2 separate regions of the Homo sapiens genome follow, and region 2 is linked to region 1. The links are contacts of gene promoters, found by promoter capture Hi-C in blood cells and fetal thymus (Javierre and others, 2016). All regions are on one chromosome and are shown on one strand. The core of a region is centred on a gene start or on the middle of the fragment in contact, and the rest is flanking DNA. Distances in the headings are between cores, read along the strand shown. Region 1 holds the start of ZNF597 (zinc finger protein 597). Region 2 has its middle 16 kb from the start of ZNF75A.

Region 1 (2,986 bases), core at 306-2,805:
CAGCCTAGGCGTCGCAGCGAGACTGTCTCAAAAAAAAAAAAAAAAAGAAAAGAAAAGGAGAAAGTTGGGCAGCCCAGGAAGAATCATAAAGAGATAAAGGTTACAGGATTCTCCCAACATCCTTCCCTTTGCTATTTCCTCTCGTCCCCATGACACTCATTGCTAAGCTCACTCCAGCACTTCATCCAGGCCTACCCCACCTTCTCTAACGGTGTGATAAATTAATCACTTGGGATTTATTATTACTCAACGAGTGTGGAGTCTAGAAATGTGCTTAATTTAAAAATTCATTCAAATTGGAGAAGTACCAAATCTGTAATTTTGGGAACCATTCCAGAAAGTCACTTTTAATCCTAGCACTTTGGGGAGCCGAGGTGGGAGGATAGCTGAAGGCCAGGAGTTCCTTGGCAAAGCAGCAAGACTCCATCTCCATAAAGAAGTTTTAGGCCGGGCGCAGTGGCTCACACCTGTAATTCCAGCACTTTGGGAGACCGAGGCGGGCGGATCACAAGGTCAGGAGATTGAGACCATCCTGGCTAACACGGTGAAACCCCGTCTCTACTAAAAATACAAAAAATTAGCAGGGCGTGGCGGCAGGCGCCTGTAGTCCCATCTACTCGGGAGGCTGAGGCAGGAGAATGGCATGAACCCGGGAGGCGGAGCTTGCAGTGAGCCGAGATCGCGCCACTGCACTCCAGCCTGGGCGACAGAGCGAGACTCTGTATCAAAAAAAAAAAAAAAAGAACTTTTAAAAGTAGCCAGACACTGTGGTATGCGCGCCTCTCAGATACTCGAGAGGCTGAGGCGTAAGGATTCCCTGAGTTCCAGACGGAGCTATGATATCAGCACTGCACTCCAGCCAGACAAGCAACACTCCAGCGACAAGGCCAGACCCTATCTCCAAACAAAACAAAACAAACAGATAAGACATTGAGAAACTCTCTCAGAGATTCCTCCACAGGTCCCTGCTCCCAGTTGGTAGTTCTGAAAGAAGGAAGTTGGTAAACCATTATGTGTGTGGTCTTGGAACGAAGAACACTTGGTCAAAGGGCTATTTGGGGCTCAGGAGCACTCCTACCACAACAGGCATGCCCAACTCTCCTCCAAAGGAGGGGGTCAGGCAGAGACCGAAAGCAGCAATAAACTTGGACGAAAAAGGTACCTCGACTCACCTGGGCCTCGGGCGTCGGGGGCATGGACGCCATTTGGCGGGTGGGGAATGCCTTCTTCAAGACGCCACAGGGACTTCGTGACAAAGCTGCGGGGGGAGAGAACAGTTCTTAAAGGGACCAATTCCGCTGCCAAGTTCCTCCACTACCCCTAGCCTCCCTCGATTCCCTCCGAACCCCCCCTTAAAAACCTACGCCGACTGCTCCTCCTCTTGGCCCGGCCTCGAAAGGGGCCCACTTACCGCTCCGCGGTTAATAACAGGCCTCGCGCTCCCTGACAGGAGCTGCAGAAAGCGACGCCCGACCGAGACGCGACGAAGAACGCCACGGCCACTGCAAAACTCCCACGCTCTCATGCTCCTTTACGCAGGAGCTGCGGGAAAAGCCGCCGGAAGCGACCCGCCCTCAGCCCTCTCCGCCATCCTGCCCTTTGATTGGTCGAAGTTCTCCCGAAGGGGAAGTCCTTCTTTTGTGTTGACCAATTGAACACCTTAACCGAGGACCTGTAGCCACTGGGCAGCTGCGAGAGGTAGTTTTCCTCCTTTTCTCTAAGCAACCATTTCCGCTTCCGCTGGCGGGGTCTCCTCCGTGAGCTCCGGGCCTGTTTGCCTGCTGAAGTAGAGTCTTAGGGTGACCCCAGGGGGACGTAATGTTTCCGAGAAGAAGGACAGAAAGAAGACTGGGAGACACCGGAACTCGAAAGAAAATCGGTAACAAAATGTGGGTTCGGCCAACAGTGCCCTGTAGGCCTGAAATTTCGGTCTGGCCAGAGCAAGGTGATTGAGAGGGCGGGGGTTCGGGCCTAGCCTGGGCTTGAGCTGTCCTTTGTGTCTTGAGCGGATGGTGGGGCCGTGGAACATGAAGGAGTATCTTTGTGTACGTTCACAACGTTCACATCGGTGTAGGCCAGGTTGCTGGACTCTGACTCAAAGTGTTATAGAGGCATTACGTATTGTACCCGCAGCTGCAGCCTAAGCGAGCTGCTTCAGCTTCCTAGTCACAGGATCCCACGCGAGAATAGAGCCATAGGTTAGCGTCGCAGGACGTTGTTCGCCCCCGGATACCTCACATGCAGCCTACCCTAGAGCCAGTCATTTCCTATTGTGTGCTGGGGGAGGAGGGAGTGCCCTGGTGTAGGCATTTGGAATTGGAAAATTGAGCTCCTCCCCAAGCTCTGCCACTGATTGGTTGGTAATCTTGGCCAGTTTACAACTTTGCTTTCCTCAGCTGCAAACAGCTCAGAGTGCCTCTCTGGGCTAACTCAGAGGGTAATTTCAAAGATTATAAGATAATGTAAGTGAAAGAAATTGCCAGTTTATAAAGGTGTTTGGGGAAAAAAAAAGACGAAAATGATAGGTACCTTGATAGAAAAGCCTGAAAAGTCTCAACATATTTCCTTATTCCAGTGCCAGGCACATTCCTGTATCTAAAAGCTTAATGAATGGCTGCATGGTTATTAAAACAATATTAGGAGATTTGACAACTTAGGTAATGTGATTTTGTGGAATATCTGATAGGATAGTTTCAGCTACAAGTAACAGAAAACCCACCGAAAGGATGTTCAAAGAGCAGTTACAGGTTGGTTAATTCGGTGGCCCAGTGACAACATCAAGGTCCCAGTGCTTCTCTGCCACCCTAAGCATGTTGGTAACGTTGACAATAGAATCCAGGTAAAATATACAGACATGTATTGTGTCATGTACCCATCCTAAACTAGTTATTACCAAGAATAAATAATTGTTTGGGGCCCATCATGCTTCAGCCCCTGTCACTAGGGGAAGGACCTAGCCTCCCTTGATAATCTACCTGCACAAAAT
Region 2 (2,986 bases), core at 129-2,628, 120 kb before region 1:
CTTTCCTGCCTTAATCATGGAACCACATACAGAGAGAGCAGCCATGAAATCAAAGCAGTCCAGAACACTGAGCCACTGCATGGAGGGCGGCTATTCCCAAGAGTCTCCAGACCTATAGTGAACTTTGTGAGAACAAGAAATAAACATTTGTTCTGTTAAATCACTGAGACATTGGTGCTATGTGTTTCTGTAGCATAACCTGCCCTATCTTTTTTTTTTTTCTTGAGACGGAGTCTCGCTCTGTTGCCCAGGCTGGAGTGCAGTGGCGCAATGTCAGCTCACTGCAAGCTCCGCCTCCTGGGTTCATGCCATTCTCCTGCCTCAGCCTCCCAAGTTGCTGGGACTACAGGTACCCGCCACCACGCCTGGCTAATTTTTGTATTTTTAGTAGAGATGGGGTTTCACCTTGTTAGCCAGGATGGTCTTGGTCTCCTGACCTCGTGATCCACCCGCCTCGGCCTCCCAAAGTGCCGGGATTACAGGCGTGAGCCACCGCACCTGGCCAACCTGGCCTATCTTAATAGAGCTTGGAAAAGGGCAGCTGGGGGAGTGACTGTTTTGCTGGAGCTCTGGACCTTTCCATTTTCATTCTGCCTAGCCTTTGGCCCTCAAAAGAGACCTGGCTTCCCGTGGATACTAAACTGAGCTGATGCAACACTAATGGGACCACTTAAGACCTCCCAAGACTGTAGATGATAGGGAAGAAAGACATTGCTGTCTTGGACAAATCTTATGGGAGGTCAGTTCAAGGGGACAAGGCAACCCTCCTTCCCTATCTGGCCTTATTCCACTTCCCTTATTCTTTGTCTCCCTGCGCGTTGCCTCATGCACAAAACAGGCATTGCTATTGATGAATGGGCTATGGTGGGGGTTAGGGGGTAGGGATTGCCTTCCTCATATGCATGCAGGAGATTTCAAAGAATGGTTTGTTAACTACCTCTGTTGTATCTTCAGTGAGTTGTGCCTCAGAAAACAGATGAGATATAGGGCAAAAGCAAATTTGTCCAGATCAGTGTAGACAGTAAGGTGGCTATCTTCCTGGACTAAGGGATGACGGACAACTGGGGAGAAACTTGGGCAGGGAGGCAGGAGCAAGACAGTTCCACCTGTGGAGTGAGAATCCTCCAGGGGGAAAGTCGTAGCTTAGCCAGTACCCAGCTGCTGCACATAACATGATGTCTCATAACAACCTTGGAATTTGTGGGGTGGGGAGTGGAAGAAGGGATTTCTGTAGCTTGAGATGAGATTGGATTACTAAAATGATATCAGATGATATGAGAACAAATTACTTAAACCATGATATTAAAATCTATTGAGGCTTGCTTTAAAAATGAAATGAGAGACACATAATCCTAGGTTTAGCCTTAAACATTAGTACTAAATGCACTAATTAGTACTAAATGCACAAATATGTCCTCCATAAACCGGCAGATGATTTCCAGGAAACAAGAAGGATGCTTTATTTTAGCATGTTCAGATAGCAGCCTTACCGTGGCTTCACGGTTATTTCAGAGAACTGTATCATTGACCCCGTCTAGTCTCCTGACCTGTCCCCTGCACTAGTCTAAGTTCAGTGCTGGGACCATCCCAGACCTAGAGTTCTCCCTGCCGTTAAGCAGACTGGACCTTGAGCTCACCTTGAGAACCTCAGATATATTTTATTTTTGAGACAAGGGTCTCTGTTGCCCAGGCTGGGGCTCACCACAGCCTCGATCTCCCAGTCTCAAGCAATCCTCCCACCTCAGCCTTCTGAGTATCTGGGACTCCAGGCACGTGCCACCATGCCTGGGTTATTATTTTTTTACTTTTAGTAGAGATGAGGTCTTGCTATGTTGCCCAGGCTGATCTTGAACTCCTAAGCTCAAGTGATCCTCCTGCATTGGCCTCCCAAAGTACTGAGATTACAGGCATGAGCCACCATGCCCAACCTCAGATATCTTTTAACTGGAGGGGAAGAACAGGAGGGGCTTAGAATCAAAGTAAATCTCAAAACTAAAACTCCTAGGGTTTCTGTTAACTTTTGGAACTACTGAGAACAGTGTTTAATTTCCCAGGTAAGTTTGAGGAAGAACGCCCAGCAGCCTCTTTTATCCAAATGGACAATTGGTAACAAAAGATGGGAGTTCATAAAGGATTTTCCAAATATTTGTTGAGTCATGCCACTGAAGCATTTACTCCAGCATTTCCTGGTCACTCCTCCCTGTCATGTGTGATGAAGGCTGCCCTGTTACTCTTCTCTTGGAGGTTTTCTAGTGCATAAATACTTGCTGAAGCTCTCCCCACATTCTCTGTGGACTGAATTCTCTCCTATGTAGACTCTCTGAAGTCCCCTCAAGTGGGAAACAAAGTTTTGCCCATACTTCACGTTTCTACTGTTTGTCCCAGTAGAAATCCACCCAAACAAAAAGCATACTTTTGTTTCTGAATCTTTTCTACACCTGTCACTTTTTCTTGTGTGGGTTCACTGGGGACCGAGATGAGGGCACTGTTTGAAACATCAACCAAATTTGCTACATGCCTAGGTTTCCTTCATGTATTAATCCTCCACTGGGCAATGGTAGTTGGGCTGTACTGAAATGCCTTCTTCAGTCGAGCGTCTGTAAGGCTTTTCTCCTGTACGATTCACCCAAATCTGATAATGCGTGTACTTTGCCTAAAGCAGTTCGCCTAGTCTGAATCCCTCCTGTGAAAGGAATTAAGCAAGCTACCTTTTGCATTGCATTTCAGATTTAAGAAAACTATCTGAATCACTTTTCATTTCTGCCACAGTTCAGATAATGAATCTTGAGTTGCACCAATCTTAGCGCTGACATTAAAAATCAAGCTTTACAGTGTTTGGATATGATGCACCTTTTAGGAGAAACTAAGAAAGCTTACTGTTGAAATTTTTTTTTTTGACAAGTTAACATTTATTTTTGGGCCTTTCTTCCTATGTGTATTTCAAGTCTTTTTCAAAACAAGGACCCAGGAATCTCCAGATTCAATT

The links. Contacts are between HindIII fragments. The CHiCAGO score rates a contact against its expected background, and 5 or more counts as called.
Region 2: a fragment that was not itself captured here is called in contact with the fragment with the promoter of ZNF597 in region 1 in 6 of 17 cell types (M1 macrophages, total CD8 T cells, naive CD4 T cells and 3 more); the score reaches 6.5 in M1 macrophages.

What each region holds. Positions count from the first base shown.
Region 1 is chr16:3,441,949-3,444,934 of GRCh38, forward strand. ZNF597 (zinc finger protein 597) reads right to left here and starts at 1,556. Exons shown (of 4, transcript NM_152457.3): 1 at 1,412-1,556; 2 at 1,173-1,258. The coding sequence starts at 1,205. It overlaps NAA60 (N-alpha-acetyltransferase 60, NatF catalytic subunit), which reads left to right and starts at 1,732. Exons shown (of 8, transcript NM_001083601.3): 1 at 1,732-1,889. RefSeq lists an enhancer at 1,816-1,965. The HindIII fragment of the contact is 9,083 bases long and covers 1-2,600 here.
Region 2 is chr16:3,319,840-3,322,825 of GRCh38, forward strand. It overlaps a transcript of ZNF75A not described here. Among named protein-coding and RNA genes, the nearest start is that of ZNF75A, 16 kb to the left of the region's middle. The HindIII fragment of the contact is 2,887 bases long and covers 1-2,822 here.